Regions from separate parts of the Homo sapiens genome. Here regions 1, 3, 4, 5, 6 and 7 are each linked to region 2. The links are contacts of gene promoters, found by promoter capture Hi-C in blood cells and fetal thymus (Javierre and others, 2016). All regions are on one chromosome and are shown on one strand. The core of a region is centred on a gene start or on the middle of the fragment in contact, and the rest is flanking DNA. Distances in the headings are between cores, read along the strand shown.

Region 1 (3,581 bases), core at 1,016-3,515, 340 kb after region 2:
TAGATTTTTGTAGCCACCAGCTCCAGATCAAGACAACGAGCAGTTCCATCACCCCAAAAACTCCCTGGCGCTGGCCACTCCCTCCCCTCACACCTCCACCCTGGCAACCACTGATCTATTCTCTGACACTATGGCTTTTGTGTTTTCAAATATGCCATGTAAGTGGAATGATAAAGCGTAGAACCTTTTGAGGCTGGCTCCTGTCATTGAGCAGAATGCCTTTGAGATTCCTCCAAGTCACTGTGTGTATCAAGAGTCCGCTCCTTTTTATTGGAGAGCAGTATTCCCTGGGGTACGTGTAACAGCTTGTTTATCCATTCGGTCACTGAAGGCCATGTGGGTTGTTTCCAGTTGTTGATGATTATGAATAGAGCTGCTACAAACCCGCGTTTCTGTGGGACCGTAAGTTTTCATTTCTCTATGTAAATGCCAGGGGTGGAATTGCTGAGCTGTGTGGTACATCCCTGTTGGACTTTCAGAGAAAGCATCAAACTGTTTCCCAGAGCAGCCATGCCACTGCGTGTCCCTGGCAATGCAGTAGTGTTCCAGTTCCTCCACATCCTCACCAACACTCGGTAAGGTCGGTCTTTATTTCAGCCCTTCTACGAGCTCCTCCTGGCTGGTTAACCCCTCTCCCAGGCCAGACGTGCTGCCTCCCTCAGTCCTGCCTTACCTCTTCCTGCTGTGTGGCCTTGTGCTCTGAGTCTCGGTTTCCTCATCTGTGAAATGGAGCCATCATTCCCACTTCCTAGGGAGCCCGGGGCAAAAAGAAAAGCTCAGAGCACTCAGCAAAACACCTGCACATTTGCCTGAGGAATCCGCACTTAGTGAGGTCTACTGTGAGCAAGGTACATGGGTGGTGGGACAGGCCCCCTATCCTGAAAGAGCTCCCAGCCTTGGCCGGGGGAGGGGGCGCTGATCTGCTAGCCACTGATTAGAGCAAGTTACTTTTCCTCTCTGAGCTCCGGGGTCCTCATCTGTGAAACGAAAACAGCCAACCTCACTTTTCCCCTACAGCTGGTCTCAGGAGAAACAAAATAATGGACAGACAGTGCTTTAGAAAGAGCCAGCTCACTGCTCAAGCCAGAAGGCCTAATGGGTAAGTGCTTAACTGCTGAGGACGCTCCCTGGATTTGAATCCCAGATCCATCACTGCCTGGCTGTGTGCCCGTGGGCAGGTCAGTCACTTAACCTCTACGTGCCTCAGTCTTCCCAGGTGTAGTTGGGAAAATAAGGTGTCCTATCTTATAGAGATACTGTGAGAATAAAAGCTGTAATCTCCATGAAGCCATGGGGAAGTGCCTGGCCCACAGCAAGTCCCCAGTGAAGACAGGCAATTATCAGACACAGACACTGCCACCCTCCCCAGGCCTCCCATGTGGCAGTGGCACCAGGATGGAGGCCATGGAGGAGTAGGAAATGGATCTAACTAACACTTCTTAACTTCTCCGCCCCACTGGGCAAAGCCCCAGATCTCAGTCCCCGGGCACAAGGCTGGCGCTCAGCCACTGCCCACCAGGCCCAGGCTGTGTCCACGGCCCACCTCCGAGGGGCAGAAGCTTCCAGGCATTGGATGCATTGCTTTCCTCTGCCTGCTGACCCCTCTCCACCAACACATGCACACACACGCACACTGCACACACAGTACACACACACACACACCACATATACACACCATACTCACGCCACACACACACCACACACCACACACATACACACCACACACACCACACACATACCACACACACACCATACAAACTACACACACCACACAATACGTGCACACACACGCCACACAAACCCACCACACATACATCACACACACCCACCATACACAATGCACACACAAAACACACACACACCACACATACCCACCACGCACACACACCCACCACACACCTACCACACACCACACACACCCACACACTACACACACCCACCACACACATCACACACACCACATACCACACACCACACCCACACCACACATTACACACCATAGACACCACACACACACACCCCCACAACACACCACACACAACCATACACACACACCACACAAACCACAAACACCACACACACACCACACACACACACCATACACACACACACACACACACACACACACACACATACACACACAGAGCATTCCCCTCTGCATCCCAGGACGGAGTCAACAACAGCTGCTGCAAATCAACGGCTGTGGGACGTGTCAGTGCCCACCTGCTGGGGCTGGGAAGAGTGGGCACTACAGTGTCCTGGACAGAATTACTCATGGGTGGGACAATCTTCATCCACGGGCACTGCCATCAGACATCTGAGCTGGTGGGAACCACTGTGCCCACCTCCCAAGCCCACCCTAGCAGGGAGGGCATCACTCACAAAGGGCCCATGTGGCCCCACAGAGAAAATGGAATCTTGACCTCCAGGGAGGAGGGCCCCACACCCACCTTCCAGCACAGATAACTGCTCTGAGAACGGCGCTCCACCCCTACTTCACCCCCAGGACTGGGCCCTGCAATGATCAGATCCACCCAGCAGCCCCTCACCTGCCCCACTGGCGAGGCAAGCTGCACACACCCCTGAGGTCTCCCCTTGACCTTTCCTCCCCTTCAGGGCCACTCCAGGTGTTTATTTCAGGCCTAAGTGAGGACAGAAGACTCCACCGTGCACTATGGCCAAACCCCGGCTTTGGGGGCAGGGGACCTGGGTTTGAGTCTTGGCTCTGCCCTCTTGCCAGCTGCATGGCTTTGTGCAAGTCACTACACCTCTCCTAGCCTCAGTTTCCCCTCTTGTGAAATGGGGGTAGTGAGAACGCTCACCTCGCAGACGTGCTGGTGGAGAGAGAAAGAAGGAGTGCACGTGGGCACCCATGGGGAAAGTGCCCTGCCCAGGGAGGAGTCTGGCCCTCCTTCCACTTCCCTTTCTCCACTCAGCCGTGCACAGTGGAAAAAGCCTGCCATCAGTGCTGTGAAGCTTCCTGCTCTGCCCCACTGCCTTCTGAAGGGCCCCCGGGGGTTTCCCCCAGGAGCCAGGCTGCAGGAGGCTGGGGGCAGGGGCAGCAAGGACAGCCACTCCTCCACCCACATCACCTGTCTGGCAAGAAGGGAGGACATGGCTCCTAGGGCCCAGGCCTGGGATCCTGAACCTTTCCCTTCTGCCCTGCCAGCTGCTCTCGCCCACATTCCCGATCAGCCAGCAAACCTTTCAACAGTGGTTCTCATTGCTGACCCTTTACACAAGTGAGAAGGTCCCTGGGACACTCTGTCCCCCCACCATGCTCCTTGTTCCTCCAGGCTATCTTGCACACAGCCCCTCTTCCCAGGGCCCTCCCAGGGCACTGGGTCCTCATCCTCCTCTGGACTCTCACGGGTCTCAGTGTCTGCAGCCACTGGCCACTTATAGCCTCTACTCCTGGTCATTTCACGGCAGTTTGACTCCCCAAGACCAACCAGTCTGAAGGTATGGCTTGTACTGTGCTCCTCCGTGTATCTCCCCGTGAGGCTGGGGTGCACAGCAGGCACTTTGTCAACACAGGTGGAATGAGCAGCTGTCAGGCTAAGCCCAACCAGCACACTCAG
Region 2 (3,784 bases), core at 1,044-3,543:
CTGGGCAATGTCAGTTTCTTTTTTCTGGGAGTAATCACTGGGAGGAATTGTTGGAAGCCTCAACCCAGGAAGTTTAGGAAAAGTGGAATTGACAGCCTCTCCCTGCCCACGCTGATGGCTGGGGCTCAGTGCCAGAAGATCCCCGCACTCACCCTGAGGAAGGTGGGGGGCTCCTGTGAGGAACTGGGTGGAGGAAGCCTTGAGAGTAGGGTTGGCCAGGGCTCTTCCTGAGCTCCAGAACATTCTGTCTGTTATCAGGAAGCGGAGCTGAATCCCACAGACTCCCTCCCGTCCTCCAGTTTGATAGTTATTCTGTAAGGGCACTAACGCCCCTTGGGGACCAAGGTGGGGACCTCGGCCTCTCCAGGATCCCCAGGGAGTCGTGGCCAGCCCCAGGCCTGTATTCTCCCTGCTGATGGTAAAGGGGTTGGTCCTGGCTGTGCCTCAGTGCTTAGGGGAGCAGATTAAAAACGCAGGTCCTTGGCCTCCTGCTGGGAGCGTCTTGGTCGGGTTGTAACGGACTCAAGCATCTGCATCCCTAAGAGGCTCCTCTGATCCACACTACTCTCCAGCCTTCTGGAGACGCCAGCACCCTCGCCCTCCAGGTGCGTCCCATGCCCTGGGGGTACAGTGTACCCATGCTGGTGAGTTAGAGATGACATGAGCTTTACCCTGTGTGATGGGTTGGGTGTCTTAGGAAATGTTGGCCAAGTGCCCCTGCAGGACTCCTGACCTCTACCTCCCGGAATGGGCCTGTCCACAGGTAGCTCTAAAGAGGGTCTTAGCCATCAGGCCCATTCCTGTACCTCCTAAGCATCATTTCCTCCCGGGCTTCTTTCTTGCTCTCACTGGTCCGTTCTCTCACCTTCTTTCCAATCTTCAAATAACCAAGCTCCTCCTTCCTCAGGCCTTTGCACCTGCTGTGTTCCCTGCCTGGAATGCTTTTCTTACAGATCTTTGCTTGGCTGACTTCTTCATTCATGTCTTGGCTCAAATGTCACTGGCTCAGGCTGGCCTTCGTCGACCCATTCTGACCCTCTCCCAGCCCAGCAGTTCTCTGCAGTTAGCCAGCTTTGGTATCTTCATGGCGCCCAACACAACCAGAAAACCTGTATTGTGTACTTTTTGTCTCCACTCCCCACCCCCAAATGTCAGACCTTGTTAGTCACTCTTCTGCATCCCCAGCAACTGGCACAGTGCCTGGCATGAAGTGGGCACCCAGTAAACATTTCTTGGCCGAATGAACATGCAGCACACCTGTAGCAATACATGTGCCCCGTGCATCAGTGGAAAGAGTGTGGCACTGGAGATTTGCATATTTTCAAATTCCAGCTCAGGCCCTTGCCTGTTCGCCTTTCTGAGCCTCATTTTTTTCTTCTGTGAAATGGCCATGCTAGTGCCTGCCAGGCAGGGTGATGTCAGAGTTGGAGACGGCGTGTGGAAAGCCCATGAGGCACAGTGAGTGGGCAAGAAAGGCTGGTGTTTGTTATTATATGGACAAGAAGGAAGGCGGGTTAAAAATCAGCTTGGAATCTTAATGTCAGTGGCCCCTGGAGAACCAGCCAGCCTCTTGTCTGTCAATTCCGCAGATATTCACTGTGCACAGCACCTCACTGCGAGAGGCGCTGTTCGAGCTGGGGGTTCCCCAGGAATAAAGTGAAGCTTCTGCCCTCATGCACCTCAGGTCCTTGGTGGAGGGGGAGAGCAGACAATGAGCAAGAAGAATCAGTGAAATGTAGTCTATTCAATCCTGAGAAGCCTTACGAAGTAAAAAATAAAGCCGGGAAGGGGCTTAGGCTGGATGAGGGTGTGGATTGCAATTTTACTGGGGGAGGGACACAAGTGGGGATGGGGGTGACCTGGTTCCCTGTTGGGCAGTGAGAAGCCAGCAGGGGAATGCAGCTGACCCCAACACCCTGGCTCCAAAGAGGGGATCCGGAAGAAGACCTGGACGGTTAGGCCAGGTGTTTATACCTGCTGTGCCCACTGATTTTGTACTTCTTCTTCCCCCTAGAAACCTCCTCCAGCTCGCTTAGGATGGGGGCCTATGTCTTCATCGGCGTGGGGGCAGTCACTATGCTCATGGGCTTCCTGGGCTGCATCGGCGCCGTCAACGAGGTCCGCTGCCTGCTGGGGCTGGTGAGTACGGATCCCTCCGCAGCTGCCTGCCCATTTCCTCTCATCCAGCCGAGTGCAGCCTGACCGCGGCGCTGGCCGTAACATCGGGTGGAGAGCATCTCTCGGGGCACGCAGGCTGGGTGCACCTGGTCGGGGACCCTCAGCTGACTTTGTGCCTGCTCTGTGTCCCCAGTACTTTGCTTTCCTGCTCCTGATCCTCATTGCCCAGGTGACGGCCGGGGCCCTCTTCTACTTCAACATGGGCAAGGTAAGCCCCTCTCTCCCTCCCTCTTCACTGGGCTGGACCAACCATGGGGGTGATTGACTGAGTGTGGGGGATGGACAAGGAACCCCCCCAGTTGTCACAGACAGATCCAGTAGGTGTCAGGGACGGCCTCCTGGACACTATTCCTTGTGATCAAATGGGGGAGCGTTAGAAGAGAAGGCGGCAGGTGTGGGCAGTCCCCGCTGGGCCTGGATCTTAGCCTGACCCCCCTGCTTTCTAGCTGTGTGGCCTTGGGCAAGCTGCTTGCCTCTATGTGCCTGTTCCACCATCTGTAAAATGGAAACAATAAGAAAACTGAACTCTCAGAGTGGTTGCAAAGATTATTCGAGATTATCTGAGTGAAACACATAGCGCATGGCACCATAAGTACTCAATAAATGTTATTCTTGTTATTATTAAGATACTTTAGCAACTATTAAATCCATGCCACTCACCCACAAATGAGGTTTAGAAGGAGACCGTTAATAAAAACATCAGTCTTGTGTCCGAGGGGAGATGTTCAGCTTTCAGAAACAGAAAATCAGACTTACAGCGGCTTAAAGTTGAAGGACATCTGTGGTTGACTTGACCGGAAGTCTGGTTTGGAAGCTCAGAGGCCCTGGTTCTGGCTGTTGAGCATCCTCGCTGGGATGGCTTTCCTGCATTATGACACTTACCTCGTGGTTCCAAGATGGCTGCCACAGCACCAGGCACGATGTCTGTGCCGCTGTGGCCTGAAGATGGGGAAGTGGGCAGTGCCAGACATGGCCATCCCTTTTATCAGAAAAGGCGCAGTGGCTCATGACTGTAATCCCAATACTTAGGGAGGCAGAGGTGGGAGGATTGCTCTGAGACTAGCCTGGGCAACATGGTGAGACCCCATTTCTACAAACAAATTTTTAAAAATGCTAGCCATGGTGGTGTTCACCTGTGGTCCCAGCTACTCAGGAGGCTGAGGCAGGAGGATCCTTGAGGCCAGGAGGTTGAGGCTACAGGGAGCCATGAAACAGAGCTTGGGGCAACAGAGTGAGACCCTGTCTCAAAAAAAAAAAAAAAAAAAAGTCCTCCAACAGACTTCCCCAGACTGGGTTACAAAGCCACCCCTGGTTGCAAAAGAGGCTGAGAATGTGAGTATCCAACTTTCAGACTCTAAAGACAGAGGCACAAGAGAGAAAGGAGCCAAGAATGGCTGTTGGGTGAGCCAGTTAATTGTGAGTCACAGTTATCACGTAAGAAGCACCTACTGTGTGCACGTGGGATCTTCTAGAAACTTTCCATACAGCGTCTTGTCCTCACAATGGCTCTGCAGGGTTTTATGTTGACAGATGGAGAAGCAGATGCTCTGAGATGAAGAGCAATAACAACATAGATAACAGTGACTCTAACACCCACCATCCCTCC
Region 3 (3,746 bases), core at 766-3,265, 320 kb after region 2:
CAGAGCTGCAGGTGGAGTGAGGTCCTCAGCGTGCCCTGACCTCGGCTCCACCGAGATGTGCATGTGTATGGACTTCCTTTCTCCACTGGGGATAAGAAGACTGCCCCAAGTTGGTGGTTTAGGAGAATCCCAGGGGACCTGGCACCAGGATGCAGAGCCCCTAGCTCTCATTCCCCCAACTCCCAAGCAGGTGGATGGAGAGACGATGGAGGGTGGGGGCTGCACCCAACTGCCAGGCCTAAGCCCATCTTCTCCCTCTGCCCCCAGCTCACCCGAGAATTCTTCACCAAGGAGCTCACCAAGCACTACCAGGGCAATAACGACACAGACGTCTTCTCTGCCACCTGGAACTCGGTCATGATCACAGTGAGTGACGCCCCAGAGATGCTATGAACATTCAGAGCCACGATGCCCAGTGTTCACATGCCCACGCCAGGCATCAGTAATCAATCCAGGCACTCTCCCATTGATCACAGACCTGGCCTTGGAATCACCATCCACGCAGCATTCCAGGCAGCCATGCCACTTGATCACAGTCCCTACTCGGGATGAAACCTGTTTGCTCTCCCTGTCTTGGGTCCCCAAGCAATGGTCATTATGATGATGATAATAACCACAGCAACTGTTTATGGATGGCTAAGCGCCTGGTGAGGTAGGAATTGTTACTGCCACCTCTGTTATAGAGATGAGGACACTGAAGGCCCAGAGAAGCTGAGTGGCTTTCCCATGGTCACACAGTGGTGACAGGTGGAGCCCGCCCACACCCAGTCTTCTGATGCCACTCCTTTGCAGAGGCTGTATGTCCTTCTCTGTCCCCGCCCCTGTGTCCTCCTCCTGCCCACCAGAACCTTCTCTGGGATCTCCCCCTAGTTTGGTTGCTGCGGGGTCAACGGGCCTGAAGACTTTAAGTTTGCATCTGTGTTTCGACTCCTGACCCTGGATAGTGAAGAGGTGCCGGAGGCCTGCTGCCGGAGGGAACCCCAAAGTCGGGACGGGGTCCTGCTGAGCCGGGAGGAGTGCCTCCTGGGAAGGAGCCTATTCCTAAACAAGCAGGTACTGGCCCTGCTCTCCAGACAGGGGAGTGGGTCTATCGGGATTTGGGTGGCCAGAGCTGGGTGGGAGGCGCTATCACCCCAGAGGGTCTGAAGCTACCCCAGGAATCCCAGGGAAGTGTTGGCCATGATATGGGATGCCTGCACCTGAGCAGGGGCTGATGGAGGCTCTCTGTCCAAGCCCCTGAGATCCAACCAAAATGGGGAAGGATGACAGTGGCAGATGGTCTGCCGCTGGAGTGGGCATTCAGGCTGGGGCTAAGGGGTGAGTAGGAGTTTCCCGATGTTTCCTGAGTTTCTGATAATGCAGGTCCAAAGGGAGGGAGGGGGACAGAACCAGAATTGCACAGTGGGGGGCCCTTCTTAGCCATGCACTGTATTTTGGAGGAAGCTCTTATTTGCCATGTGGGGCACCCTAAGGGAGCAAGGTCTCCTTGACCTGACTCTCCAAGGTCAGAGAAGCTCCTAGACTTCAGGTTCTCTTGCAACCTGAGGACTTCCTCGCAGCCTTGGAAGAAACCCTTTCCCTTCCTGCACGTGCCATTTCTAGGGAAGACAAGCGCCTGGCTTTGTGTGCCTCCTGCCCACACACCCTTATGAGTTCACAATGCCCTTGCTCTTAATCCCCTTCTTCCCACTGACCAGCCCCCACTCTGCCAGTGTGGGTGTGTGACCAGGCTAGGCAGGAGGAGAGGGAGGGAGAGGACGAGGGTGATCTAAGCCTGGGCCCCAGCCCCCTTGCTTGAGTAGGACTTTAACGAGGGTCTCATGGAGAGTTCCAGATGCAAGAGACACAGCAGGGGACAGGAGACAAGGCCCCTGTTCCTGCGAGGCTCACGATCTCATTAGAGGACGCGCAAGATGAACAAGCAGCAAACTAATGAGAAGTAATCATTTCACATGGTCATGATTGCTGCGAAGAAATAAAACCAGATGAGGGGCTAGAATGGGCCTTGGGTGGGGGCTCAAGGCAGAACTTGCAAAGTCCCAGAGGAGGTGACAGTGAGCAGAGGCCTGGGTCCTGGGGCTCTGGCGGGCCCTTTCCAGCCTCAGCTCTGCCCCAGGAACTCAGCCCCTCTGGCCCTGGCACATCCCCATGGATTCCTGAGGCCCTGAGGGCCACGTTCTCTCTGTCCCTCATCACCCTGCCTTCCTGCATTGGGGGAAAGAGGCTCAATAGAGAAATGAGGGCCCTGAGTTGAGGCCACTGTGGACGTGGGGCAGAGAGACCTGCCGTGGGGAGCAGCTGCAGGGCGGGGAGGGGAGTTTCAGGCTTCCATGGCAGGCAGGGGTGGGCTGTTAACTGCTGTGTTGCCTTCGCCAAGACACCCTCGCTGGACCTCAGATTCCATATGTTGGCAGAGGCTGCTGGCTGCCCCCCACGATCCATTCACCCCTACTCTCTTGGGAAGGGAATGGTTATCACACCCCATGACCACCAGCTAGAGGCTGCACTTCCCAGCCTGCCTTGCAGCTAGACCATGTAACCGAGTTCTGGCTAACGGGAGGTGAGCAGAGGTGATTTGTGCAACTTGAGTCACATCCTTAAGAGAAAGTGCTGTGCCCACCCCTCCTTTTTTCTCTGGCTAGGACTTGGCAGAGGGAGGTGGCCCCTAGGATGGCAGAGCATCCAGAGAGAAGGAGCCTGGGCCACGTACAGTTCCATGGCATACAGCGGCCACCATAGCGTGGGGTTTATGTGAAAGACCAGTGAATTTGTAACTTGGTGAAGGAGCTGTTGTTTGAGATGCCCGTTGCCAACAGCCAAACTTAGAACCTTTTAATGCTACTTGTAAGTTTTCAGGAGGCTTCCCATGGGCCGCATTCCCCGCATCAGATGTGCTTCCCATTTCTGGACTCATCCTCCGTTAGGATGTCTCCTTTCCTCTCCTGGGCATGTCTTCAAAATCAGAGCTCATCAGAGAGGTCCCTGCACAGCCACATTCATTCTTTCCAGTGACTCTGTTGTTCCTGAGGGTCTGAGACTGGCTCCTGGGGTTTCTTTGCTGAGACATTCATGTCCCTCCTAGGCATTTCGTCCCGTTAAAAATCTGCTGCTGTGGAACTGTCTCTATTTGTCTTTTCCTCCAAAGCCCTCTTGCTTAAAGCCCAGGATGCATTTTTTTTTTTTTTTTTGAGACTGAGTCTCGCTCTGTCGCTCAGGCTGGAGTGCAATGGCACAATCCTGGCTCACTGCAACCTCCACCTCCAGGGTTCAAGTGTTTCTCCCACCTCAACCTCTCAAGTAGCTGGGACTACAGGCACATGCCACCATACCCAGCTAATTTTTGTATTTTTTGGTAGAGACCGGCATTTCACCATGTTGTCCAGGCTGGTCTCAAACTCCTGACCTCAAATGATCCACCCTCTTGGCCTCCCCAAGTGCTGGGATTACAGGCATGAACCACCATGTCCGGCCCTAGGATACATTTCTGACTTTGCTGGCAGGCCCATGGCAAGGATCTGGGAAGAGTTGAGTTCACTGTGGGGGTTGGGGTGGGGGTGAGGTGTGCAGGGATGCATGGCGTGGCCACAGGGACATCCTAGTTGCTCTGTGGCCCCCTGGTCCACATTGGTGGTGGACCTGGGTAGACAGGGGGCTTTTATACTGGTGCCAGTGAGAAAGGACAGCAGGTAAGACCAGGGTGATGGCGGTAAAGACAGAGAGGTGTGTGGATCTGAGAAATGTTCAGG
Region 4 (3,959 bases), core at 372-2,871, 290 kb before region 2:
ATGTGGGTCAGATGTCAACTTTCTGCATCTAAGGTCTCCCAAAGAAAAAATATACCTGGGGGGTCGCGCTTCTGCTCCCAATCTCATCTGGGCTAATTCTTACCCCCACCCTACCCCCTTAGTATCTCTGGTCCTTGCTCCGCCGCCGACCGCGCGATCCCACATCTGGTTTCCATCGCCGGCTTACCTTGAAGTGCTCGTTAATAAAGATATTCCGCAAACCAAGCCAGGAGCGCGCAGGCTCCAGCCGCCCCCCACTCCATGCCCAATGGGAACCGCGCCTCACTGGCCCGCAGACCTAAGCCACTTGAGAGTCCTTTATTTATTGAGCTCCTGTTGTGCCAACAATCTGGCAATACAAGGCTTATCATACCCATTTTGCATATGGGTAGACTGAGACTCAACCAAAATAATTTTCCAGTTAGCAAAAAGCGGAGTGCTCCTGCCATCATCCTAAATGCTCCTGTCCAGCGGTTTCTTCAAGTTCCTAGAACCTGCCAAGGTCTCTAGCCTGTGCACTGTAGCATAGGTGGTTTCCCCTACCTGGAATTCCCTAAACTCATTCCTGCACTTTTGTCTGGCTAATGATTCAGAGTTCAGCCTAGAGCATCTTCCTCTAGGAAGACTTCCCGTCTCTCCTAGTTTAAGTTGACGCTTCCGTTTGCCTCATCTCCGTCCCAGATCTCGTGGTTGTCTGGTTGCCTGGCTATGAGTGTATCTCAACCCCACTAGTTGCCCCAGGGCAGCCTCCTACGTGCCTGGCACCCCACAAATATTTGTGGAATAAAAGATTAAACCTGGACCAGGCGCGGTGGCTCACACCTGTAATCCCAGCACTTTAGGAGGCCAAGGAGGATGGATCACAAGGTCAGGAGATCGACACCATCCTGGCTAACACGGTGAAACCCTGTCTCTACTAAAAATACAAAAATTAGCCAGACGTGATGGCAGACGCATGTAGTCCCAGCTACTTGGGAGGCTGAGGCAGGAGAATGGCGTGAACCAGGGAGGCAGAGCTTGCAGTGAGCCGAGTTTGTGCCACTGCACTCCAGCATGGGCGACAGGGCGACAGGGTGAGACTCCGTCTCAAAAAAAAAAATAAATAAATAAAAATAAAATAAAATAAAGATTAAACCTGGGGCTGTAGGACTCTATCACCTCAGTGTATTCCAACTGCTCAGTGCAGCACCAAGTTCTGAGACTCTTTCTTTGGTTTCCCTTAGTCAAGGACAGCTGGTCACCCACCCACCCCCTCTTCAAAAATCAAGTAGCGGAATTAACAGCGTGCTGGACCTTCCTGAGCCTGTGCCTTGAGAGCAGTGAGTTTTCTCACAGCAGGGGCCAGGTCTGTCTTGTTCGCTGTAGGGCTTGGCACTCATAAAATGCTTGTTGAGTGAATGAATGAAAGTGTCCTATGGTTCCCAGGGGCTTAGAGATGCATTTTTTTGTCAAGGAGTTCCAAGCCAGCCGCCTACTCCAGTCTCCTGTGCCCAGCAGCTGCCTGTAGGCACCCAGAAGGTGGTGGCAATACCCCCGCTTCTTTCTCCACCTCCATTCCTGTCTAAAAAATGAGGGAAGGACTATGAGAGGCAAATTGTGGTGGAGAGGGTTGGGGTGGGGATGACAACCCCGAGACAGGAACAATTGCAATTGTACACTCTTCCTAGAACCTCTGAACCAGGCGCACCCAATGCAAAAATTTGCTGTGTTTCATGAAGCATTTTTTGAGCATCACCTCGCCTCTTACCACCTAAACACTCTGAGCTTGTATTACCTGTTTAATTACTGCCTCGCTATTCAACCTTTCCCTGACCACCTGGATATTCAAACCCAAGGATTTCATGCCCTAAGCCAGAATCTTTCCTGTCTTGCCTGAGACCCTGTGTCCTTGGAACGAGCGCCTTTAGTCCTCCGCATTTTATCTTATAGATGCATCCAGGAAGAATGAGCGAGTGCCAACAAGTGAGAAAGTGCCTTGGGGACAACGTTCCGGGCAAGTCCTTTGAATGTGTGACCTGAAGCCCTCATGCAAACCTCCACCGACTCCCTCTCCTAGGTCCCTTCCAAAACATTCCAGGGACTGTGGTAATAAGAGCAGCTGGTTATTTCTGTTTGTGTTCAATCATTTGTTCCTCTATTGGTCCTTCCGTAGTTGAAAGTGGAACCACTCCCATCTGGTTCTTAAGCAAGGATGTAGGGCATCCTTCCAGCTTTCTGGCCACAGGGAGAGTGCTGGAGCCTGAGTCTGGGCCTGACTGCTGCTCTCCAGGTGCGTTATTTCTCCCGCAGCTGAGGCTCTCCCTGGCTTGCTGCCTGATTCCTGTCAGGTTCCTTCACACGCCAGGCAGTTTCTGCATGCCCAGTTACTTCACTGTGTACTGGGAGACCCAGGGGACTACACCCACCTCAGCAAGTCATGAAGTCATGTGCACCACTTGGCTGGAAGTTGCCAGCTCTGCAAATGGTGGAAGGCTATGATAACTGCTTCTAGTCCTGCACTCCCACCCCTGGCAAATGCTCCGCTGGCTGCCCCCTTCTCCCTCCCTTTTGCTTCTCCCAGTCAGCCCTCCAGGAGGCAGCTTCCACATTCTGTGGCCTCAGGCTCCAGGCTCCACACTTGGGAAGGGTGTGGGAACATGGTGAAGAAAAGCCTTTCTTCCTCAACCCTAGTGCTGGGTGTCACCTCCTCGCTGAGGCCTTCCTTCGCCACCCTAGCTACCCCGTCACATCGTCTTTTTCCTCCATAGCGTCTACCGTGATCTGATATTATCTCCCACATTTGTTAATGTACTTGGTTTATTGTCTGTGTTCTTCCTAGAATGCAAGTCCCTGGCCACTGTCTCCCCAGTACTGAGTGCAGTACTTGGCACACAGTGCTGCTCAGAAAATATATTGAATAGATGATTGAATGAATAGCCCAGAGGACTGCCCCTGGCTGGGGGGGTAGCTGCCCAGTCCTGGTGGCTCCGGTAGAGCCCAAGGGTGGGGGATTGAGTTGGTTAGAGGGTGCCCAGTGGGGAGAGAGCACAGCAGACTCTTTCTTTTTCTTTCTTTTCTTTCTTTCTTTTTTCGTTCTTTTTCCTTCCTTCCTTCCCTCTCTCTCCTTCCTTCCTTCTCTCTCTTTTCCTTCCTTCCTTCCTTCTTTCCTTCCTTCCCTCCCTCTGTCCTTTTTTCCTTCCTTCCTTCCTTCCTTGTCTCTCCTTCTCCCCTTCCTTCCTTCTCTCTCTCTTCCTTCCTTTCCTTCCTTCTTTCCTTCCTTACCTCCCTCCCTCCTTTTTTTCCCTTCCTTCCTTCCTCCCTCCCTCTCTCTCTCTCTTTTTTTCTTTCTTTCTTTCCCTTGAGATGGAGTCTTACTCTGTCGCCCAGGTTGGAGTGCAGTGGCACGATCTTGGCACACTGCAACCTCCATCTCCCAGGTTCAAGTGATTCTCCTGTCTCAGACTCCCGAGTAGCTAGGACTACAGGTGTGTGCCACCATGCCCGGCTAATTTTTTGTATTTTTAGTAGAGATGGGGTTTCACCGTGTTAGCCAGGATGGTCTCAATCTCCTGACCTCGTGATCCACCCACCTTGGCCTCTCAAAGTGCTGGGATTACAAGTGTGAGTCACTGCACCCAGCAGAGCCACCACCTTCAGTCTGAGCTGCCCTCTACTCCCCAATTATCTACTGCACTGCCACCCTGGCTGAGCACTGTGGACGTGTGATGAGGGGCACCCCGGCTCCACAGCCTGGCACCTACCTTCTATGTAACCTTGCCTGACTGACCCAAGCCTTGACTTCCATGTGAGTCAAATGGGGACTACGCCCACATCAGCAAGCCCTGTGCAGCACTTGGCTGGAAGTTGCCAGCTCTGCAAATGGCAGAAGGCTACAATAACTGAAGTGTGGGGTGGAAAGGACACTTTGGACACCGGCAGAAAAGACGGGAAGAGTCAAGATATGAAGCCGAGAAGCTTCT
Region 5 (3,555 bases), core at 563-3,062, 500 kb after region 2:
TCTTTTTAGCACAGCAACTGGGTTCTAAGAGTGGATGTCGCAGGAGAGCAAGGCAGAAATGCGTGGCATTTTCTAGATCTAGCCTGGGAAGTTACAGAGCATCTTCTGCCATACTCTACTGGTCAAGGCAGTCACAAAAGTCTATGAATCAGAGATGTGGGGTGGAGTTGGGCTCAGATTGAGCACTGAGTGAAAAAGCTTCACTGCAAACAGGGATACCCCCAGAACAAAGTCCAGGCTTTGTGGGGAGGAGAAATGAAGCAGATCTGCTAAAGCCAAAAGATGGAGAACTGCTTCTGTCTGTGAGTGGGGTGGGTTGGCCAGCAATACCTGGGCTTCACAGGTCAGTATGGGGCTGGCTGAAGGCACCCACCTGGTGTTTAGGGGGCCCAGGGGCCTCCATAGAGCAAGATAAGTGCCACGTTAGCACACCAGGGTCACCAGGCAGCCAGGACAGGTGACTATCTCAGGGTCTGATGGAAGCTCAAAGTCCAGATGCTCTGCTCAGCCCACTCCCGGGCTCCACACTGGTCTCCACCATCTGTGTGACCTGGGCTGATGACATCTTCGAACTCCACTTTCTCACCTGCAAAACGGGGCTAATTATAGTTCAATGAGTCATAGCCCATTTCAGGGGCAAGTTCTAAATCAGTAAGGCAAAAATTAGGTACACACAAAACGACCCTTGAGAACCTCTTATGCTCCCCACCAGCATGGATACACATGGTTTTGTGTATACAGTTGTGAAGAGTAAGTCTAATGAATGTCAAATGTGGACAACTGATGAAGCAGAACAGAGGGTGGATGGGGTGCAGTGGGAAAGCCAAGAGGGAGGTCTGGACTTCTGTGCCATCTGCCTTTAAGGAAATGCCCATCTCTAGTTGAGTGGGGGACAGGGCAGGGGTAGGGGTGGGGTTCCTCTAAGCCTGTCAGGTTTGCTGACTGGCTTTTCCGTGTTGCTTTCACACCAATCCTCTGTAGTGTTAAATGAACTGATAGATTTGCGTGGCATTGTACAAATTAAACTAGTTAATATACATAAAGGCTCCAGCACAGTTCCTGGCATATAATAAGTGCTCAATAAATGTGGGTTGGATTTTTTTTTTTTTTTGTGAGACAGAGTCTCGCTCTGTCACCCAGGCTGGAGTGCAGTGGTGAGAGCTCAACTCATCGCAACCTCCAACTCCAGGGTACAAGTGATTCTCATGTCTCAGCCTCCCAAGTAGCTGGGACTACAGGTCTACACCACCATGCCTGGCTAACTTATTTTGTGTGTGTATTTTGTATTTTTAGTAGAGACAGGGTCTCACCATGTTGACTAGGCTGGTCTCAAACTCCTGGCCTTGGCCTCCCAAAGTGCTGGGATTACAAGCGTGAGCCACTGCACCCCGCCCTGGATTCATCTTAATCTCGCTTGATCAGACCCATGCACGTGGCTCATTTTCAGCCAGTGCTGCCATCCTGGTTGTTAAAATATCAGCATGTGTCCACTCCAGTTGGTAAATAGCTGCTGTCTAATTCCCCATGAGTGTGACCCGCTGCCCTGCTGCCCTGGCCTCTTACGTGGGATCCCCGTGTCTCCCCATGATGCAGCAGCTTGAGGGGTGGCCTTGGTCCAATTGGGCCCCTGGGACCTGCTCAAGTACCAGGCCAGGTCTGTTCTGACTGTTGGTCCCATGAGCTTCTGGGGTTAAATATTTCAAAGATCACTCCTGCCCATGTGCCCACTGCTCTGTGAAAAGCTGGAAGCAGCAGCCAGGCACTGCCTCCTGCACTCTCGGCTGGCATTTCCTGCTGGGGCCCACGGATCCCTTGCTCAGCCTGGGCTCTGGCTCCTGCCCTTGGACAGGATTCCAGAGGCAGGTGTGTCCTCATGGTGGGGCCTCACTCCCGAGTGAGGACGAGCTGCCTCCTTTCAGGGAATGTGGTGCCCAGAGGCACCAGGGGCCTCTCAGTGGCAGCTGTCTTTGAAGTCCTTGGACCCATTTCTCCCCAGCCCTGCCTGTAGCTATGTGGGGACCCAGGCCCAGTGCCACTCAGACTTTCTCAGCCTGCCCCTGAAATACCCACTAATGCCAACCAAGAATTAACACATGCACCCGCAGGCCAGGCAGCCTGCCTGAAGCAGCTGACACAAGTGTGAAATTTCTTTGAAGTCTTGGGTTTTGTCTCAAAAAATACACGCAGATTCTGCATTCTGCTCCATAATGTTTCCATTTTTGTTTAAATCTAAAAATAGGGCTTTAAATGACTTCCAGTGAAGAAAGTTGCCTCTCCAGGAAGATGTCGGGGCTTAGCCTGTGAGACTGTCAACACCCCTGGCCACAGGCCTCTGGGCACTCAAGGCTGGAAACCGAAAAATGTTGTCCCCGCCCCTCAGGAAAGGTTGAGTCTGACTTTTCACCTCTGACCTGTGCTTAGGCACCCTCTTTGGGTCACCTCCTATTTCTGTCCCTCTGAAACTGCAGTTGGCCCTGACCCAGAGTGGTGAGGAGTGGCGGTCTCTTGCTACTACAGGTAGGATGCAGGCTTGGCAATGCCAGTGGCCATGGTTCTACCCACCCCTGCCTTGAAAGGAAAATAGCACAGCTCAAGAAAAGGGACACCCAGAGACAGCAGTGCCCTGACAACATCACTCACTCTCCTTGACCCAGCATCACCTTGGATGTCGCAGGGCTATGTGACCAGAAATTCCTCATGTTGCCCCTAAACATGGTGAGGCCCTGTCTCTACCATGCACAGATGAAAAGAGTCCTAATTAATCAACTCTCCCTAGAAAGGAGACCACTCGGAGGAGCCCTACTCATTCTCAAAATATTCAGAGGCTATCCTGCGGAGGAGGGAGAGTATCTGTTCTCTGTGGCTCCACTGGGCCACAACCAAGACTGAGGTGTGGGAGATGGAACAGGGCAGATTTAGGATGGTGGGAGGAAGTGCTTTCTGAGTCAGATCTTTCCAGGGAAAGCAGGGCCTGCTTATCAGGTAGTGAGCTCCTGTCCCTAGGGGTATGTAAGTGTAAGCTGATAACCTTCTGGTAGCAAAAAGGTAGAAAGATTGAAGCACTAGATGGGGAAGGGTGGGCTTTTGTCTCTAAAATTCCTTCCCTTTCTGAGTCTCTGGTTCCATGATACTCTCTAAGCCCTGTTCAGGGATGTTTCCTCCCCATTCCAGTGTCCAGGGTTGCTCACAGTCACCACTCCTTTCAAAGCTGGAGGCACTGCAGCAGTGAGCAGGTGGGCATCTGTGCCCTGTGTGACCTGCTGATAGCATAGACGTGGTTATCAGCCCTCTATATGTCAGGATTCTGACTAGGAAAACTCAGTGACCCAAAGTGACCTTCATCCAAACCTCTCCTTTATTTCTGTAGTTTATACACTTTGCGTGCAAACACCCCTGGGAGGGACAGTACCTACACCTTTGGCAATGCTAAGCTTCACACAAAGAATTTTTCATCTCCTTTCTTGGATCGGGGTGGCTTTTATTTTTCTTCCAAGAACAACTAATCCTTATGCAGACCCAAGAAGTGGCAGCTAAGCTTCGGAGCCAGAAAAATGA
Region 6 (3,590 bases), core at 544-3,043, 470 kb before region 2:
AGAAGCTTGTTGGAAAAAGACTTTTACCAAGTATCTGATGATGGGAAGCCAAGAAAAGCATTTTAATAGAACTGTCTCAGATTTACAATGCACTAGGGCCTGTAAATAAATTTTCCTGTCTTTAAGGTTTGGACTGATTTGCAGTTGTTTTGTATAGCTTCTGAGATCTAAATCCTCACAGTCCAGATGGAGAGACCATAAAGTTACTTTCCCTGGCAGCCTTGGTCTGTCTTGTCTGTGGGCAAATACAATTGAGTAGTATGTGGATCTTAGTCTGTATAGGTCACCCGTTTTACTGTGATGCCAGTTTTAATTGGTTTGGTGACTTTTCCAAGAGCAGCTCACCAAAGCATTCTTTAAATTTAGGAGAATTAGGGTCCCTAATTTCATAATGCAAATCTAAATTCTCACAGTCTAGATGGAGAGACCATAAAGCTACTTTCCCTGGTAGCCTTGGTCTGTCTTGTCTGTAGGCAAATACAGTTGAGTAGTATGTGGAATTTAGACTGTGTAGTATAGTCACTCATCTTATTGTGATACCAGTTTTAATTGGTTTGGTGACTTTTCTAAGAGTAGCTCACCTAAGCATTCTTTAAATTTAGGAGAATTAGGGTCCTTAATTTCATAATGCAATCAGTTAAATAAATATGGATTAAGGACTTGCTTTGTTCCTAGTATTGTACTGGCATGTTGAGGGAGATTTTAAAAAGGGTGGGCACAGATCCTGTCTTTAAGAAAGGCCCTCAGGTTGCTGGAAAGAGAACTTTCAGTAATACATAAATTATAAGGCCAGGAGTGCTGTGTACTCAGTTATGCTAAGGAGAGCCAGGAATGACCTCAAGATCAGAGTGGATCAGAAGGTGAAAGGAATCTTCACAACTGGGTAGCCTCAGATAGAGAGGGTGAACATCAGGGCACTGACTTCCACCAGGAGGTTCTGTGGAGAGACTAGTAGGTAAGAGGAGCATCTGGTGGCACAGGCACGGGAGGCAGGGGAGAGCTTTGAATACCAGCAACAGAGAACTTGGTTGAGAACTGAAGGGAAGGACGGTAACTAACAAGCGGAAGGTAATGAAAAGATTTGTGAGGCAAGGAGAAAGCAGTGAACATAATTGAAGAGATTTAGGAAAGAAATCAAAGAGCTGGAAGGGACCTTAGAAATTATTCAACCCTTTCCTTGTATTTTACAAGTGACAAGTAAGCCCTAGAGTTGCAGTAATCTTGAGAATGAATTGTTAGGCCTAGTCTGCAGCTGGAACCTAGGTCTCCTGACTCCCAGTCTGATGATTTGTTTTTTTTTCATGGTGTACTGCAGTATTTTCCAAACCGAAGGTAATGATTCATTAGCAGATCATGAAGTCAATTCAGTGGGTCACGACTGGCATTTTTTTTTTAATGAAATATAATAGGAAACTATTAGAGAGCTTTATACAGAGTAAGGGTAAATATTTCCTGTAGCTTTTGTTCCAGTAGTGAGTTGTTGCATAAAATGTATTTGTGTATTTCTTACTGTGGGTCCCAGTCCAGAAAGTTTGAGGAAAGTTGGTACTGGAAAGCCCAGTGGGCCTGTGAGTTGGAGAGACTTGAATTTGAGTCCTGCTCTGCCGGGTGTGTACCAGTTTTGTAGCTTCTGTTTTCTTACCTATAACGTGGAGCTAATAATAGTATGGAGTAGTTGTATTGATTAAATGAGATGATTGACTCAAAGCATGTAGATTCTGGCCCCCCACTCTATGCTGGCCGTCATTTGGGACAACTCCTCCTGGGGCAGCATTTAAGTATTAGAAGGAGCCTCCAAGGAATGCAGAGTGGTCTTAAAGAACCACAGTAAGTTACAACTACTGATGTATTATGCATTTGCTTCTGGGCTTGGAAACTCGAAAGAGAATTTATTCCTGTGGGTTCTGGTGTACATTTTACATCTTGGCATGGAAGAGGCTTACTTCTCTCTCTCTCCTTTTTTTTTTTTTGCGTGTGTGTGTGAGGATCAGAATGACTTGTAGGGAGATAAAAATCAGTGACTCTTTAGCTGACCTTTTTTTTTTTTTAATTCATTGGCACATTTGGATAAAGTATTATTGCTTTCTTTCCCCTTTCCAATGGAAAAAAAAATGGTACTGAGCCTTTTCCCCCTTCTAATCTTTTCTTTGCCTGATCATAATTTTATCCATTTTTTTAATTAAAAAAACTTGTAGAGGAAAGTTAGAATCAGAATAGATGTTTGAGTGGTAAACAGCTGAGGAGCTACAGTCTAGTAAGTATAAGCTAAAAATAAAGGACATTTTTATGTGAATTTAGGAGGACTGGTCACATACCTTTTAGAAATAGCTGTTCACATCCTGCAGAAAGGAGAATGAGTTCTGATATCTGATTTTCATGGTGCCCTCTGCCTCTTCACTTTTCCTCTTCTCCCCATTTTGCTGCCTCTGCCTCCCTTCCCCCATTTCTTTCTAGCCAGCTCCATCCCCTATTGGAAATCCCGCTGGAAAGGGGAGACGAGCTTCATCTCCCACATGATTTGGGCCAGGGGCTAAAGCACTCCCATAAATCTGCAGCTCATTTTAATGCCACGTTAAAACAGTGTGAGCGGCTGGTTTCCGTGGCCCCTGCCCTTTTCTTTATGGGCTTCTTTGGCTCTTCTTTATAAAGAGGCCCTGTGGAGTCATTTTAAAGTCCTTATCAGTTTGCTGACAGCTATATGGGCCTTTCTGCTGAGTCCAGGAGCTCAGGCAGGCGTGTGAAACTTCTGATATTAAAATTGAAGAAAAATGCCAGGCAGAAGGGATTGGGTGGTGGGGCAGTGGTGCAGAGGTGAAAGACTAGCAAGATAATTAACCTTTGCAGGTCCGGAACCTCGCCGTTGGCCACTGGTAGGGGCAGGGCAGGAAGGGTTAGGCAAAAGAGGGTTTTCCAAGGGCTTTTATTTTTATCCCAAGATTAGAAATGCCATTCCACTGGCAGTTTGTGCTTTCACGCTTCAGCAAGTGAGTTGGGCAACTTGAAGGGTTAGGGTGGCCAGGTTTGCAATGAATTTTTTCCTAAAGGCAGTCTGACTGGCTGGACCTCTGCTTGCGTGTCTTTGCCAGCTCCAGCCTGCTGTCTCTGCCTCCGCAGCATCACTGTTATCGAATTTAAAGGGACTTTCATCAGTCTGCTTTGCTGACCCTTTTAGAACAGACTGTTAACCCTCAATAATCCTCCCAGAGAGTTTCATGGAAACACCAGGCCCTCCATAAATGTCAGCCTGCGATGCTTGGCCCTTTTTACCCTCTCTGTTATAGAGAAGTAGACTAGAGGCTGCTCCTGCCTCTATCCTACCACTTTTCTTTCTTTCTTTGCTGGAAAACTGCAGCAGACAGCTGAGGGGAAGGAAAAACCATTACCTGGATCAAGGCCAGTGGTTTGATGGGAGCTTCAAAATCTTTGGCATCTCCTGCCCAGAATGTTTTTCCAGGCATTTTAAAAAGAGCATCCTTACTCTCCTTCTCCTTTAAACCTTCCAACTTTGACTTCCAAAGGGGGATGGATGGGTAGAATAAGCCCTTAGAATGTACTTTATATCTTCCTGCTCTTCTTCTAACTAAAGCTTT
Region 7 (3,722 bases), core at 468-2,967, 430 kb after region 2:
GGAATTTGTTTTCCATTCGGAGATCAAAGGAACAGAAATGCTGGACACCAGGTTCCCAGGCAAAACAAAACAAACATATCAGAGTGGAGAAACTTTTATTAACTTAACAGCTGGCATCAGGCCTCAGAGGAACTGTAACATAATTTGGACAAAAATATTGTGAGGAGTCTTAGGGAGGAAGGTAAGAACTCATGAGTCTGGAGCCAAAGCTTTGGGGCAAGGGAGGATGCTGCCTGTGAGGGGGAAGACTTTGCAGCTTGATGAAGAATACTTCATATTTATTGATACGTTGCTTTGCACTAAGGAAGATGTGTACTTTGTGCTTTAATGTATTGCAGCAATCAAGGTGCTGGATTACAAAAAAAGAACAGAAAGGAAAAAGAGAGAGGGAGAAAAGGAAAATAAAAGAACAGAAAATAACAAAAAAGAAAGGCAAAGGAACCATCTGTGGCTAGCTGAAGCAGTGGAGGAAATCTATTAGAAGGTATATGAGTTAGATATAATATAAGGCACATGGCTATGCAAAGAAGAGAGAGCCCAGAAATAACAGTGGCTTAAATTAGACAGAGATTTCTTTCTTTCTCAGTAAGTAGCCAAAATGTTATGGTAGTTGTCTTAGTTGGTTCAGGATACCATAACAAAATAGCTCAGATTGGGTGAGCTGTGAAATTTATTACTCACAGTTGTAGAGGCTGGGAAGTCCAAGATCAAGATGCTGGCAGATTCAGTGTCTGGTGAGGGCTTCATAGATGGAGCCTTGTTGAAGCATTCTCACATGGCAGAAGGGCAAAAGGGGGTGAAGGGGTGAACAGAACCCCTTGAGCCCTTTCTAGGAGCATGAATCCCATTTGTAAGGGTAGAGCCCTCATGGCCAATTGCCTCCTAAAGGCCCCATCTCTTAATACTATTGCATTGGGGATTAAGTTTCAACATGAATTTTGGAGGGGTATAACCATTGAAATCATAGCAGTGGTTCTGCTTCAAGAAGTTTTCAGGCCCTGGTTTGTGGATCCCCTAACCCTAGGTATTGCCCTCAGGATGTGGTCCAGGAAGCCTTACTCCATATCCACATTCTAGCCAGGAGGGAAGGGAGAAAGCAAGGGGGAAGGAATGCTCCTTCCTTGGAAGGCACCACCTGGAAGGTGCCCACCTCTCTTCTGCTCACACCTGCTGTCCACAGCACAGTCAATGGCCACACTTGGAACAAGGGAACCTGGAAAAGCCATTGTAATCTAAGCAGTCATTGGCCCAGCTAAATAATCTATTACTACATAAGCAGGAAGATGGCTCTTGGGAGGATCCACAAGTCTCTGCCACCGATGAGATTGGGCAGCCTAGATAATTGTTGGCAAGAGTGAGGAATCAGGCTTAGAAAACTGGTAGGAGTCAAACTAGCCACAGGGCAGGACCCCAGCCCCATCATACTAATGGACAGGCTGGCTGGGGTATGTCACCACTGCTGCCACTGGGAAGGATTTCCCGTCTGTTCCTGCATCTTTGCACAAGATCCAGAAGGGCAGCGTTCTGCAGGTGGAGTCAACGTCACAGGCCCAGGTACCAACTGCCAGGGGGTGGAGAGGAAAGACTTCAGGACCCCTCACTGACTTCCGTGGAAGGAAAGGGTACGGGACCCACCCACACTAGAGGCAACTGAGAATTGCTCCCCAAATGTGATGGGAGTTGGATATCTGATGATGTGTACCACCCCTTGAAAGCCAAAAGCAAATGTTCATGACACATGCCATTTCATCCTCACAGCCATCTAGTGAGGTGAATCTCTTCATAAGCCCCAGCGTTCAAGAGAAATTGAGGAGCATAACTGGAGTCACATTTGTCACTCACTTACGTAGCGCTTCCTATGAGCTAGGCATGGTTGTAAGCAGATTACAAATATTAACTTTTAAAATTTGTCTTAGCTTCAGAACAACCAATTAGGACATCTTAGTATCCCCATTTTATAGAAGCACCAAATGGCAAGGGGATTTGCTCAGGATCACAAAATTACTAAGCAGGAGCAAAACTGGGATTTGAACCCAGACACTCTGGCTCCAAGTCTGTGCCTATAACCACTATTCTACACTGCTAGCAAATGTAAGAAATACCCAGGGAAAGATATATGGCTGTGCATTCTGAGATGAGGCCCAGCCCCAGGCTTTCCAAACAATTTTTCGTAAAAGATGTTAATTTCACGAATGCTTTATGTGAATTCTTGTTGTTGCTGCTATTCCGGAAACCAAGCAGATTTCATGTCAGGGTCAGTGAGGCACAGTTCAGAGATAGCTGCTACAGGAAACTGGGGACCAGGAGGAAGAAAGACTCTGAGAAGTGAGTATTTCCCCTTACCTCCCCGCCATCCCCTGCAGGAAGTTAGGAAAAATATAGAAGAAGGCTTTGAACTTCACTAGGTCTTAGAACAAAGGGCATGATGACAATCATTTAGGCTTTAGAAGTAGGGTGGCCAACAGCCGCCATCTCGGTCACCCAAACTCTAAAGCCAGCAAGCAAGGGGCTCAGCCTCCCATGCCCTGTAGACCCTTCATATACACACAGAAGATCCTGGAGCTTCAGTCAGGGCTACTACCTGGGAACTGAACTTACAAATTTAAATTTTACGTACTTACCCAGTCCTGACTCCAGTCCAACACAGTGCTCTGAGCAGGCTGCAGCCCCAGAAGGCTGACAAAGAGCAAAGGGGTCTGCAAAATCCACCAAGGAGCTATCCATCTCCAGAATTTAGCCAGGGCATCCCATGGCTTATCCTAGGGTGCTGGGCCCTAGGGTGAGCAGCTTTGGGGGAGCCCCATGTCAGAGACAGAGCTATGCCTACTGCAGACACTTCCCTTCCTCCTGCCAGGCCATGGCTGGTGTGAGAGCTGGCGCGCTGGGAGTTGTTGGGTCCTCAGAGGCCTGCCGTCTATTCCCTGCATCAAGGAGGCTCAAGGTGTCATTGATTGAGTCACACCACACCTTAATACCACTAATCAGGTCCCCAAGCATGAAGAGACCCCACTCCTTATCCCCTCAAAATTCACAGGCCAAGGGGCAACAACTACTGTAACACATGTAAGTATATATTGCTAATTATTATTATTGTTGTTGTTGTTATTCTAGCCATTATCTTTTAGTATTTGCAGTGCCAGATTAGGCTGTTGACATTTGCTATCTTTGGCCCTGCCACGACATGTGAGGCAGGGATCCCATCTCCATCCTGCAGATGAAGAAATGGAAGCTTGGAAAGACGAACGGACGATCATGAAGCTTGCAAAAGGCAGAACCAGGATGCAAGCCCCTTCCCCATGCTGGATGAAGATCACATCACCACCAAGAACAGAGAATGGCTCGCCCTTCTAGGAGCAAAACAGACAGTTTTGAGGCAGCCTGAAGAAAAATGTCATCAGAGGGAGGGTTGACGGACTGATCAGCAAGACTGTCTCCTTGAGGGCCCCTTACCTTGGTCTCCAGGAGACATACTCGGGGCCCCAGCATGCCAGGATGAACCCTGAGGGAATTCCAGCTGTCCCTGGAGAGCTTCACACCCACAGCCCAGCTGGAGGGGCACATCGGAGAAGCCGTTTTGTATCACGTGATGCCTTCCCTGACATCCGTAGCTGATTGGACCAGGGGTGAATGGCTAATCCAGGAGAAGCCAGTCCACTGTGGGGCCAGAGACCTACTTTTCTTTCACTAAAAATATGAACTAAGGAATATGAAGACTCTGGTTA

The links. Contacts are between HindIII fragments. The CHiCAGO score rates a contact against its expected background, and 5 or more counts as called.
Region 1: a fragment that was not itself captured here is called in contact with the fragment with the promoter of CD82-AS1 in region 2 in 1 of 17 cell types (total B cells); the score reaches 6.8 in total B cells.
Region 3: a fragment that was not itself captured here is called in contact with the fragment with the promoter of CD82-AS1 in region 2 in 8 of 17 cell types (naive CD4 T cells, megakaryocytes, total CD4 T cells and 5 more); the score reaches 12.1 in naive CD4 T cells.
Region 4: a fragment that was not itself captured here is called in contact with the fragment with the promoter of CD82-AS1 in region 2 in 1 of 17 cell types (total B cells); the score reaches 5.2 in total B cells.
Region 5: a contact is called between a fragment that was not itself captured here and the fragment with the promoter of CD82-AS1 in region 2, in 8 of 17 cell types (naive CD4 T cells, neutrophils, total CD8 T cells and 5 more). The highest score is 8.6, in naive CD4 T cells.
Region 6: a fragment that was not itself captured here is called in contact with the fragment with the promoter of CD82-AS1 in region 2 in 1 of 17 cell types (endothelial precursors); the score reaches 5.5 in endothelial precursors.
Region 7: a contact is called between a fragment that was not itself captured here and the fragment with the promoter of CD82-AS1 in region 2, in 1 of 17 cell types (total B cells). The highest score is 5.8, in total B cells.

What each region holds. Positions count from the first base shown.
Region 1 is chr11:44,940,330-44,943,910 of GRCh38, forward strand. All of the region lies in intron 1 of TP53I11 (tumor protein p53 inducible protein 11), which reads right to left. Among named protein-coding and RNA genes, the nearest start is that of TP53I11, 8.8 kb to the right of the region's middle. RefSeq lists an enhancer at 2,985-3,581. The HindIII fragment of the contact is 1,417 bases long and covers 1,558-2,974 here.
Region 2 is chr11:44,603,044-44,606,827 of GRCh38, forward strand. It overlaps CD82-AS1 (CD82 antisense RNA 1), which reads right to left and starts at 2,294. Exons shown (of 2, transcript NR_182290.1): 1 at 1,975-2,294; 2 at 1,465-1,687. CD82 (CD82 molecule) reads left to right here. Exons shown (of 10, transcript NM_002231.4): 5 at 2,015-2,139; 6 at 2,312-2,386. The HindIII fragment of the contact is 7,514 bases long and covers 1,661-3,784 here.
Region 3 is chr11:44,918,947-44,922,692 of GRCh38, forward strand. TSPAN18 (tetraspanin 18) reads left to right here. Exons shown (of 10, transcript NM_130783.5): 7 at 268-366; 8 at 871-1,053. Among named protein-coding and RNA genes, the nearest start is that of TP53I11, 30 kb to the right of the region's middle. The HindIII fragment of the contact is 5,797 bases long and covers 1-3,746 here.
Region 4 is chr11:44,311,773-44,315,731 of GRCh38, forward strand. No RefSeq gene overlaps it. Among named protein-coding and RNA genes, the nearest start is that of ALX4, 3.6 kb to the left of the region's middle. The HindIII fragment of the contact is 4,661 bases long and covers 1-3,952 here.
Region 5 is chr11:45,106,735-45,110,289 of GRCh38, forward strand. LOC105376652 (a long non-coding RNA gene) reads right to left here. Exons shown (of 6, transcript XR_931241.3): 5 at 374-586; 6 at 1-24. It also overlaps a transcript of PRDM11 not described here. Among named protein-coding and RNA genes, the nearest start is that of PRDM11, 38 kb to the right of the region's middle. The HindIII fragment of the contact is 3,233 bases long and covers 197-3,429 here.
Region 6 is chr11:44,137,164-44,140,753 of GRCh38, forward strand. All of the region lies in intron 7 of EXT2 (exostosin glycosyltransferase 2), which reads left to right. Among named protein-coding and RNA genes, the nearest start is that of EXT2, 43 kb to the left of the region's middle. The HindIII fragment of the contact is 3,581 bases long and covers 4-3,584 here.
Region 7 is chr11:45,033,369-45,037,090 of GRCh38, forward strand. The region is part of intron 1 of LOC105376650 (a long non-coding RNA gene); the gene reads left to right. Among named protein-coding and RNA genes, the nearest start is that of LINC02685, 61 kb to the left of the region's middle. The HindIII fragment of the contact is 3,020 bases long and covers 208-3,227 here.